Regions from separate parts of the Homo sapiens genome. Here regions 1, 3 and 4 are each linked to region 2. The links are contacts of gene promoters, found by promoter capture Hi-C in human tissues and cell types (Jung and others, 2019). All regions are on one chromosome and are shown on one strand. The core of a region is centred on a gene start or on the middle of the fragment in contact, and the rest is flanking DNA. Distances in the headings are between cores, read along the strand shown. Region 1 has its middle 23 kb from the start of CBX7. Region 2 holds the start of ATF4 (activating transcription factor 4). Region 3 holds the start of PDGFB (platelet derived growth factor subunit B). Region 4 holds the start of APOBEC3C (apolipoprotein B mRNA editing enzyme catalytic subunit 3C).

The links. The method cuts DNA at HindIII sites, captures the fragments that hold promoters and counts their contacts. A contact is called where the count stands out against the background at its distance.
Region 1: a fragment that was not itself captured here is called in contact with the fragment with the promoter of ATF4 in region 2 in 2 of the 25 tissues and cell types used here (aorta and lymphoblastoid cells).
Region 3: a contact is called between the fragment with the promoter of PDGFB here and the fragment with the promoter of ATF4 in region 2, in 1 of the 25 tissues and cell types used here (mesenchymal stem cells).
Region 4: a contact is called between the fragment with the promoter of APOBEC3C here and the fragment with the promoter of ATF4 in region 2, in 1 of the 25 tissues and cell types used here (lymphoblastoid cells).

The regions. Positions count from the first base shown.
Region 1 is chr22:39,127,927-39,130,626 of GRCh38, forward strand. No RefSeq gene overlaps it. Among named protein-coding and RNA genes, the nearest start is that of CBX7, 23 kb to the right of the region's middle. RefSeq lists a silencer at 723-772. The HindIII fragment of the contact is 3,322 bases long and covers 1-2,700 here.
Region 2 is chr22:39,519,155-39,521,854 of GRCh38, forward strand. It overlaps ATF4 (activating transcription factor 4), which reads left to right and starts at 1,408. Exons shown (of 3, transcript NM_182810.3): 1 at 1,408-1,597; 2 at 2,200-2,517; 3 at 2,619-2,700. The coding sequence starts at 2,292. RefSeq lists a silencer at 746-945 and enhancers at 1,326-1,475, 1,836-1,885. The HindIII fragment of the contact is 4,198 bases long and covers 1-2,700 here.
Region 3 is chr22:39,243,732-39,246,431 of GRCh38, forward strand. It overlaps PDGFB (platelet derived growth factor subunit B), which reads right to left and starts at 1,251. Exons shown (of 7, transcript NM_002608.4): 1 at 170-1,251. The coding sequence starts at 232. The HindIII fragment of the contact is 11,810 bases long and covers 1-2,700 here.
Region 4 is chr22:39,012,923-39,015,622 of GRCh38, forward strand. APOBEC3C (apolipoprotein B mRNA editing enzyme catalytic subunit 3C) reads left to right here and starts at 1,335. Exons shown (of 4, transcript NM_014508.3): 1 at 1,335-1,457; 2 at 2,673-2,700. The coding sequence starts at 1,441. RefSeq lists enhancers at 547-1,165, 1,142-1,436, 1,166-1,783, 1,356-1,465 and a silencer at 1,576-1,625. The HindIII fragment of the contact is 14,453 bases long and covers 1-2,700 here.

The sequences.
Region 1 (2,700 bases), core at 139-2,638, 390 kb before region 2:
GAGCCGAGATCACGCCATTGCACTTCAGCCTGGATGACAGAGGGAGATTCCGTCTCAAAAAAAAAAAAAAAAAAAGGCTGGGCACAGTGGCTTGTGCCTGTAATCCCAGCACTTTGGGAGTCCCAGGCGGGTGGATCACGAGGTCAGGAGATTGAGGCCATCCTGGCTAACATGGTGAAATCCCGTCCCTACTAAAAAAGATACAAAAAATTAGCTGGGTGTGGTGGCAGGCACCTGTAGTCCCAGCTACTCAGGAGGCTGAGGCAGGAGAATGGCATGAACCCGGGAGGTGGAGTTGCAGTGAGCTGAAATCGTGCCACTGCACGATTCTACCAAATGTGTTTTTCTCCCCTAAGCTTCAGAACTGTTTGTGAACTGCTTGTGGGACCACTCTACCTCAACACCTGTATCATGGACTGAATGTCTGTGTGTGTGTCCACCCTCTCATCACCCACCGCAAATTCTTATGTTGAAGCCTTAGGCCCCAGTGTGACGTTATTTGGAGGTGGGGCCTTTGAGAGGTCTTTAGATTTACTTGAGGCCATGAGGGTGGGGCCCCCATGATGGTATTAGCATTCTTAGAAGAAAAGAAAGAGACATCAAAGCATCCTCTCTCTGCCAGGTAAAGACACAGTGAGAAGGTGACCCTCGCCAGATACTGTATCTGCCGGCATCTTGGTCTTGGACTTCCCGGCCCCCAGAACTGTGAGAAATGAATATCTGTGTTCTGGTGTATGACACTGTGTTAGAGCTGCCTGTACTGCCAACCCACACACACTCTGAACTCAGTGAAACCAGCCCGGCCACGCCTTCCTCTGCCAGGTGTTTCCACTTGCTCAGCTCTCACCCTGCCATCCTCATCTCTGCCTTTAGCCATGGCCAGGGTCCAGTCTTCACTTTCTGCCTAGTGGGTAATTTGGATGCCAGGTGGGGGTGCCTTGGCCTCTGCATGGACCCAGCTGAGAAGTGCACGAAGTCAACACGCCAGAGCAGCTTCAGTAATGGGATGGGAAGGATGGGAGAGTGGCTATAGATTCCTATCCCCAGTTGGACGGACAATTTCGGGAGGCGTTTCGAACCCTTCCCCGAAAGTCCAGGTGGAATCAAACTCCTGTTCCCACAGCACCCACCTCAATAATGTGCCCTTACCCTGGCTTTCCCTCCTCCCCTGGCCCTGTCTCCACTCTTGCTTCCTAGAACCCCCTCCCAAATAAACTACCTGCACCCAAGTCCCTGCCTTAGACTCTGTTCTCATGGACGCTGCATCAGCTTGCTACGGCTGCCATAATAAGCTCCCACAGACCAGGAAGCTTAAACAACAGAAATGTATCCTTTCACAGTTGTGGAGGCTGAAGTCCAGGATCAAAGGTCAGCAGGGTTGGTTCCTTCTGAGCTTGGAGAGAAGGCTCTGATGTAGGCCTCTCTTCCTGGCTTATGGATGGCATCTCTGTCTTCACACAGTCATCTCACAGCATGTGTTTGTGTCCAATATCCCCCTCCCCCCCTTTTTTTTTTTTTCGAGATGGAGTCTCCAGGCTGGAGTGCAGTGGCGATCTTGGCTCACTGCAACCTCCACCTCTTGGGTTCAAGAGATTCTCCTGCCTCAGCCTCCAGAGTAGCTGTGATTATAGGTGCCCGGCTAATTTTTGCATTTTTAGTAGAGACAGGGTTTCACCATATAGGTCAGGCTGGTCTCAAACTCCTGACCTCAGGTGATCCGCTCACCTCAGCCTCCCCAAGTGCTGGGATTATAGGCATGAGCCATTGTGCCAGGTCCCAGGCATATTCTTGATCCCTCACTTTCATCAATTCAGTGGCCACATCTTGACGCTTCCACCACCTAAACCTATCCCCAGTCTATCTGTTTCTCTTTCACTGACATGTCCACAGTTGCGGCCACCATCCCCTTCCACCTGCATGGCTACAACAGACTGTTTAACTCTTCTCCCCACCATCAGCCCTGCCTGCTCCAGCCTAGCCTCTGTCCTGCAGCCCATGATGCACTGAAATGCAGACGTGCTCCCAGGACTTGCCCTTGGCTCTGACCACCTGTCTCAACGTTCAGATGTGTGTGCTAAGCTTGGCTGAACACACAGTAGGTGAGCGTTAGCCCCATGACAGTCCTGCGATCCGGAATCTGCCGTTGCAGAGACCTGCGATGCTCACCCCTCCAAGGTTCTGGAATAAAGGACTCTTGGGGAGAAGCAGATAAAAGGTGCCAGAAGCACTTCCAGGCCTCTGATGACACACTACGGACCATGGTGATGGCCTCACCCAGAGACACCCGCAGTTTCCTGTTCCCGTCACCTCAGTGAATTCTCTGTCCATCTGGGGTCTCAGCGAAGGGAAAGACTTGTCCGAGATTATGGCCGGTGACCAGCAGACCTGGGACCTAAACCCCAGGCATTGCCAGGGGCTGAAGCTCTTTCTTCAGCACAGTGGGGACACCACTGTCTGGCCTCTGAGCTGCAGCTCAGCCATTGTAACCCCTGTGACCTGCACATATACATCCAGATGGCCTGCAGGTCCATTATGGCTTGTTCCTGCCCTGCCCCAACTGATCGACCTGGTGACCTTCTTCCGGACAATGAGTATTATGATCTCCCCAACAGGCACCTTGTGACCCCCTCCCCTGCTGACAATAGCTAACCACCTTTCACTGTAACTTTCCACTGCTTACCCCAGTCCTATAAAACTGCC
Region 2 (2,700 bases), core at 158-2,657:
GCGAGGTTGAATGAGCGCAGCAGATGGCCTGTGGTTATTTAGAGCAGTGCTTCCCTGGTTGTTTGATATCACAGCGCTCATACTTGTGTGGCCCAGTGAAATGGAGGCGGAAACTCAAAGTTTCCACCTTCACAGGGCCTGACTGGAAGGGGCTGAAGGATGATGGGGAGGTTTCTTGTATTCTTAAAACAGACTACCCCTTCCCAACGCACAACCCCCAGTAAGTGGCCGTGGGTTCCCAAGCGCCTCTCCTCCCTGGGCCATGGGCGTGACTGCTGAAAAGCGGGTTAGGCCGGGGAGTTCAGAATCCGGAGTGAATCCGAACTACCCCAGGGAGACGGCAGCGAAGAAAATCTTGTTCTTAGGAGAACGCAATCTTCGGACACCAGAAGTTCCTCTATGATGCTATTCTGTGGCAGCCTTGCACTTGAGCCGGATGAAAATTGTAAAAACCCAGGTTGGGCGACAGGACGGCGCGTCTTCCCGGCTCCTTTCCAGAGTTTAGGAGGAGCCATGCAGACTCAGCCGGCCTTTGGGGGTAGGTGGACAGGCCCGGCGCGCCCTCTCGAGGCCCCTTCAACCTCCCGGGGGCAGCAGCGCCGTGTCGGCTATGAATGGGGCCTCTGGAAAACTCAGGCTTGGAACAGGTAACCCCCCGGTTTCCGCAGGCCACAAATCACCACCCGCAACCGAAGGACGCGCAGGCTGGGAGCGGCGGCGGGGCCACCAGTGCGGACCTCCACTGAGGGCGGCGGGATCCGACCGCAAGGGCTGGTCCCTGAGGCCACTAAGGGGTGCGCTGGGCTAAGGCCGCCTGGGGGCAGGAGCCAGCGCGATCGTGGCGGGCCAGCAGGCGGGGCTGGCTGAGGACTAGCAGCGACCCGAGACCCCAACCCTTCCCACGCGGACCCCGGGATCCCTCTCCCAGCAGCCGCCCATCTAGGGCCCTGAGCCAATAAGAGCTCGAGATATATATGATTCACCGGGCCTGGGCCAATCACCTTGACGCGCGCTCTTCGCCAGCACCTCGCGCGATAACCTGGCGTCCTCGGCCTTCACAATAAAAACTCTTCGCCGGAAAACGACCTTTCCCCGCCCACTGCGCTGACACCGGAAGCGAGGCGTGTCTGGGAGATCACTCCGCGCTCCGGCGGCGAAGGAAAGAACGGACTCTGATCATAGAAGCCTAGTAAAGTAGTACACCTCTCTCCTTTCGTGAGGCCATAAGAACAAACTCCTTTTCTCGTCACAGCTACGCCCTGGGCATAAACGGTTGGGGCGTCAAAGGGAGGGAGGGAAGGGAGCGGGCGGGAGGAGACGGTCACGTGGTCGCGGCGGAAGGATGCGTCTGTGCTGCGTCCCCATAGAGACGAAGTCTATAAAGGGCCGGCGGGCGGCCACGGCAGCCATTTCTACTTTGCCCGCCCACAGATGTAGTTTTCTCTGCGCGTGTGCGTTTTCCCTCCTCCCCGCCCTCAGGGTCCACGGCCACCATGGCGTATTAGGGGCAGCAGTGCCTGCGGCAGCATTGGCCTTTGCAGCGGCGGCAGCAGCACCAGGCTCTGCAGCGGCAACCCCCAGCGGCTTAAGCCATGGCGTGAGTACCGGGGCGGGTCGTCCAGCTGTGCTCCTGGGGCCGGCGCGGGTTTTGGATTGGTGGGGTGCGGCCTGGGGCCAGGGCGGTGCCGCCAAGGGGGAAGCGATTTAACGAGCGCCCGGGACGCGTGGTCTTTGCTTGGGTGTCCCCGAGACGCTCGCGTGCCTGGGATCGGGAAAGCGTAGTCGGGTGCCCGGACTGCTTCCCCAGGAGCCCTACAGCCCTCGGACCCCGAGCCCCGCAAGGGTCCCAGGGGTCTTGGCTGTTGCCCCACGAAACGTGGCAGGAACCAAGATGGCGGCGGCAGGGCGGCGGCGCGGGCGTGAGTCAAGGGCGGGCGGTGGGCGGGGCGCGGCCGCCCTGGCCGTATTTGGACGTGGGGACGGAGCGCTTTCCTCTTGGCGGCCGGTGGAAGAATCCCCTGGTCTCCGTGAGCGTCCATTTTGTGGAACCTGAGTTGCAAGCAGGGAGGGGCAAATACAACTGCCCTGTTCCCGATTCTCTAGATGGCCGATCTAGAGAAGTCCCGCCTCATAAGTGGAAGGATGAAATTCTCAGAACAGCTAACCTCTAATGGGAGTTGGCTTCTGATTCTCATTCAGGCTTCTCACGGCATTCAGCAGCAGCGTTGCTGTAACCGACAAAGACACCTTCGAATTAAGCACATTCCTCGATTCCAGCAAAGCACCGCAACATGACCGAAATGAGCTTCCTGAGCAGCGAGGTGTTGGTGGGGGACTTGATGTCCCCCTTCGACCAGTCGGGTTTGGGGGCTGAAGAAAGCCTAGGTCTCTTAGATGATTACCTGGAGGTGGCCAAGCACTTCAAACCTCATGGGTTCTCCAGCGACAAGGCTAAGGCGGGCTCCTCCGAATGGCTGGCTGTGGATGGGTTGGTCAGTCCCTCCAACAACAGCAAGGGTGAGTGGGCCACCACCACATCGTCCTGGTGGGATCTAGGGTTAGGGGCCTCCTACCTTTGTATCTGACTCACTTGGCCCCATCACTCAAATGTTTTGCAGAGGATGCCTTCTCCGGGACAGATTGGATGTTGGAGAAAATGGATTTGAAGGAGTTCGACTTGGATGCCCTGTTGGGTATAGA
Region 3 (2,700 bases), core at 1-2,500, 280 kb before region 2:
CTGTCACCCCCGGACCTCGCTCCCAGCCCGAAGAGGTCACCCAGCGCCCGGCGTCAGGCTCGCGGGCTGCAAGGGTCCAAAGTTCACTGCAGGGAGAGGAGGGGGCGGTCAGAAGGGGGGGGCGAAGGTAATGAATGAAGAACCAGCCCCAGCCGCCGTGGCAACTCACCTCGGCGCTGACCAGACGCAGGTAGCAGCAGAGAGACAGGAAGAGCGCCCAGCAGCGATTCATGCCGACTCCGGGCCCGGCCCCGCGGGGCCCCGGACGCGTAGATCGAGCGCGCCGCCCCCGCGGCCAGGGTGGGGGGCTGGGGAGGGGGGTGGGCTCGGCTCGGGTCCGCGGCGATCAGGCGCTCAGGCCTCTGCAGCCGCGGCTCACCCGCATGGCCCCCGGGCGCCGCCGCCCCCGGCCCCGGCTCCGTCGCTGGGGGGCAGGGGAGGACCTGGGCGCAGGACCTGGGTCCGAGGCCGCTACCTGGGCGGATCCCGAGCCCGAGTGAGCATCCACGGCCGGGGGGCTGCGTCGCGAACCAGCCGAGGCGTCTAGCCGTGTGGGGGCGCCCAGGGGACTCCAACCTCCAAGAGGAAAAGGAACACGGCAGTCGATGGTTCGTCTTCACTCGCCGGCTACAGGCGTTTTCCTCTGCCCGCCGGCTTAGCTTTTTTGCAACATTTTCTGGAAAGGCCCCCAAAATCGGAAAGCGCGGAGCTGGGCACCTCAAGGCCCAAGTCTCCCCCAAAAAACTTTTTCCAAAGTTGGCTTTGCAACGGCAGCTCGAGCACCCGGGCAGGGAGAGGTGCAAACTCCCGCCCGGGCCGGGTAGGGGGGCGGGAGCGTGTGCGCCCTGGCGCGGGGCCCGGGCGGCGGGCACGGCTGCTCCGCGCGCGCGGCGTGCCCGCTGCGCGCTCGGCTGGGCCCGGCCGACAGGTGGACGCGGCGCGAGTCCGTCGGTCCGTCTGCCCGCCCGCTCGCCGCTCTGGGCGTCCTCTGCGGGCTGCGGGCTGCGAGCTGCGAGCTGCGAGCTGCGGCTGCTCCGGTTTTCTCTTTGCAGCGAGGCTGGAGGGTGGGCTTTTTTTTTTTTTTTTCCTTTTTGCGCGCGTATGTATGTGTGTGCGCGCAAAGTATCTCTATCTAGGGAATGAAAAATGGGCGCTGGCGGCCGGAGGGGAGCCCTAGGGAGGCAGCGGGGGAGGCTGCGGGTGCGCAGGGAGGCAGGCAGGCCGCTCCCGGCTGCAGGAGGAGAAGTTGCCACCCTTTCAGCTGTTCCGGCCTTTATAAAGGAGAAGGGAGAGTGCGAGAGGTGGGTGGAGACAGCCTTTCCTCTTCTGGCCCGGAGTCAGCGCCAGGAGGGGGGGGACGCGGGAGCTGGGGGAGGGCTTGGGGCCAGGGCGGGGCGCTTAGGGGGTCTCTGAGAGCCGAGCAACCCTTCAGTCCATGAATCTGGCCCTGGGGAAAAAAGAACTAGGGGTGACCCACCGTCCCGCCCCTCAGCACAGTGACCATGGACAGGTTAGGAGCCCACGTGGTCTAGGGGGATGTCTCCAGAGCCAAGGCCAGGAGTCCACGCTCCCCTCCAGGACCAGACATTTCCACCCTGGCACAGGCATGGCAGGGAGGGACTCAGGCTCTGCAGTCTGAGAGCCTGAATTCAGATCCTGCCCTGGCACTCGGGAGCTTGGGTCACCTTGGGCAAGTCACTTCCCTCTGTCCCCTCCATCTAGCCTCAACCTGGAGATGGGGCTATTGTAAGGACTCAGTGTTAGCAAGGGAAGACACCGCAAGGTGAACCCACAGAACCCGGCAGCCAGCGCCCTTCAGCTGCAAGCTGGGTCCGAGTCTCCTCCTCCTAGCTGGTTGCCTGGCACAACAGGCCCTGCCAGCGTTGGCTGAATTTGAATTTGTTGAACTGCAAAGTCACACAAACCCCCACAGCCCTGCAGCATCTTCGCAGGGCTACCAACATGATCTTCCCGTCAGTCACCCTGCTGTTTACTATCTCCCTCAGCCCCCGGGTTCGAGGCCCAGAGCCCACCCACCCACAACCAGCCTTCACACAGTTAACGCCTTCTGCCCCCAGTCAGGGAGCTGCTGTGTCCCTGCCTTCAGCAGTCACACTGTCTCAGTCACAGTCACACGTACTCACACTGGGCCCAGCACCCCCCTCGGGACACGCAGGCTCCTGCATCACCCAGCCTCCCGGCTTTGAGGCACCCTCATCTCCTCCGCTTGCACTGTCTCTGTTATCCGCCCTTCCCTTTGGGATGTCAGCCTGCTTCTCACAGAGGAGCACACTGAGAGAGTCACACCTGCTCTCTCTTCATAGACTGTCTTCTTGGACCTGGACAGGGTGGAACAGAGGAGGAAGGACATCTCAGGTGGTCTTTACAGACCACTGCAGGCACCCACCCACTGCTGCCTACCACCCAGCAGCGTGGCACAGTGGCAGAGACACAGCCTGAAGACACATCACCTTGGTCCAAATCCTGGAGTGGCCACTTGCTGGACAAGTGTCTGCAGGAAGGTTTTTTAACCTCTCAGTACCTCGGTTTCCTCCTTTATAAACTGGAGATGAATTTATAAACTGGAGCTGGGTGTGGTAACAAGCTCCTGTAGTCCCAGCTACTCAGGAGACTGTGGATCGTTTTGAGCCCAGGAGTTTGAGGCTGCAGTGAGTTGTGACTGTGCCACTGCACTCCAGC
Region 4 (2,700 bases), core at 85-2,584, 510 kb before region 2:
CATACAAGACAAGGGGGGCAGGGTAAGGAGGGTGAGTCGTCCAAGTGATTGATAAGGTCGAGCAAGTCACGTGATCATAGGACAGGGGGCCCTTCCCTTATAGGTAGCCGAAGCAGAGAGGGAAGGCAGTATACGTCAGCGTTTTCTTCTATGCACCTATCAGAAAGATCAAAGACTTTAAGACTTTCACTATTTCTTCTACCGCTATCTTCTGAGAACTTCAAAGAGGGACCAGGAGTACAGGAGGAAAGTGGACAAGGAGCGTGACCATTGAAGCACAGCATCACAGGGAGGGGTTTAGGCCTCCGGATGGCTGCAGGCAGGCCTGGATACTATCCAGCCTCCCACAAGAAGCTGGTGGAGCTGAGCGTTCCCTGACTCCTCCAAGAAAAGGGAGACTCCCTTTCGTGGTCCGCTAAGTAACGATGCCTTCCTAGGCACTGGCGTTACCGCCTGACCAAGGAGCCCTCCAGTAGCCCTTATGCGGGTGTGACAGAGGGCTCACCTCTTGCATTCTCGGTCACTTCTCACAACAGCCCTTCAGCACCTGACCCTATACCCACCGGTTATTTCTTGGTTATATTAGTAATACAATAAAGAGTAATATTAAAAGCTAATGATTAATAATATCTACACTAATGATTGATAATGTCCATGATCATCTCTGTATCTAATTTGTATTATAACTATTCTTATTGTAAGTATATTCTTTATTATACTGAAACAGTTTGTGCCTTCAGTCTCTTGCCTCAGCACCTAGGTAATCCTCCGCCCACATCTCTGAGGGGCTGAACTGCCCCCCACCTTCTGGAAGCTGGGAGGTTGGAAGAGGGGATGCGTGCGATGGACTCAGCACACAGCTGGGAACTCGAGGCACACCTAAGCCTTCGCTTGTGCTGTGCGGAGTCCACACTTCCTTCCCCACTGGGGTCTCAAAACCTCCCCTCACTCAACAGGGTGGTGCTGCTCAAAGCTCTGGGCACACATTAGGGCTGGGGAGGGGGTGGTGGAGAGGGGGCTCCAGCCTGCCCAACCACCAGGCAACGGGGCACCTGCCCCTCTCTCAGCTGGGTCTGGACCCGCGTCCCAGGCTCAGGCTGCAATGCCTTTCTCTTTCTCTTTCTCTTCTTTTTGCAGTTCCGTTGGGTCCTGCCCAGGACAGATAAAGACAGAGCAGCCTGTCTTTATCGGAGGTTCCTCTGCCAGTAGGAGGGGCCCGGAGAAAACCAGAAAGAGGGCCAGAGCCAGAGAAACATGAAGCACCCCGGGGCCTCCCACACCAGTGCCTGAGCAGGAATGGGGAGGGGCCATGATTCACAAGGCCCTGGGAGGTCACTTTAAAGAGGGCTGCTCAACTGCAAGGACGCTGTAAGCAGGAAGAGAAGCCACAGCGCTTCAGAAAAGAGTGGGACAGGGACAAGCATATCTAAGAGGCTGAACATGAATCCACAGATCAGGTACCTCTGCACGCTTTGTCCGCCAGGCCCCTCCTGCCACTTCCTGCCAGGCGGTCCTGCTGGGCCTCAGCCCTGGCCTCCCCCTGCCCCAGCCCCACCTCTGGGCTCCCTCCCCCCTGGTTCCCCCGCTGCCCCCACTCCCAGCCAAGCTCCTTGCCCTGCTGTGTGGTCCCACGACTGCTGCTTCTGAATGGGCCACCTTCCCCACTTGCCCCAGCCCAGTCCGCCTGCTGAGACTCTCCCCCGAAAATCATGCCCGGGCTGGTGCTTCCCGCCCTGGGAGGGTGCTTCCTCTGTGTGCTTCCCACTATTCCTGGGAGCTCTGGAACTGGGAGAATTGAACCAAAGGATGATTTGAGCAATCAGGCATTTTGTTCTCAGCGCTTTGGTGCAATTTCTGTAAGATTTACTTTGTTTCAATACAAAGTCTTAGGAGAGGGTGTGGGGGAGGGAATGGTCTCTGTACCAGAAAATAAGTCACTTCTTCCAAAGATGCCTCCACTGTGAGCAGAGTAGGATGCACACGACCCCAGACACAGGCTCCTCCTCTGTGAGCACCGTTCACCTTTCAGAATGACACCTGCAACATGGAGTGTAGGAAAAAATATGATGATCAGGAGAAATGCTCTTATTTTAGGCCAGGCACGGTGGCTTATGCCTGTAATCCTAGCACTTTGGGAGGCTGAGGCGGGCGGGTCACTTGTGGTCAGGAGTTTGAGACCAGCCTGACTAACATGGTGAAACCTCGTCTCTACTGAAAATACAGAAAATTAGCCAGGGGTGCTGGCGGGCGTCTGTAATCCCAGCTACTTGGGAGGCTGAGGCAGGAGAATCCCTTGAACCCGAGGGGTGGAGGTTGCAGTGAGCTGAGATTGCAAACTCCAGCCTGGGGGACAGAGCGAGATGCCGTCTTTAAAAAAAAAAAAAAAAAAGTAGCAGAAAAACTGGGAGGTTGAGGGTGTTCCATTGGTAGCCCCAGAGCTGGGGTTCCAGCTAGGAGAGGTCACCCCGGCCCTGCTGCCCCTGCCAGCGTCCCCTCCTCTTTCTCTCTCCCCGTCTTCCTGCCTGGGAAAGCAGCAGACATTCTCAGGGCTGTGGAGGGATGGGGGAGGCCCAGAGCCCAGGGACGTCCAGGCAGCTGTGTTCAGTGGGCATCAGCCCTGAGGACTCCGGTGCGGGGGTCTCTGCATTGGGGTTTCTCTCTTGTGCCTTCAGAAACCCGATGAAGGCAATGTATCCAGGC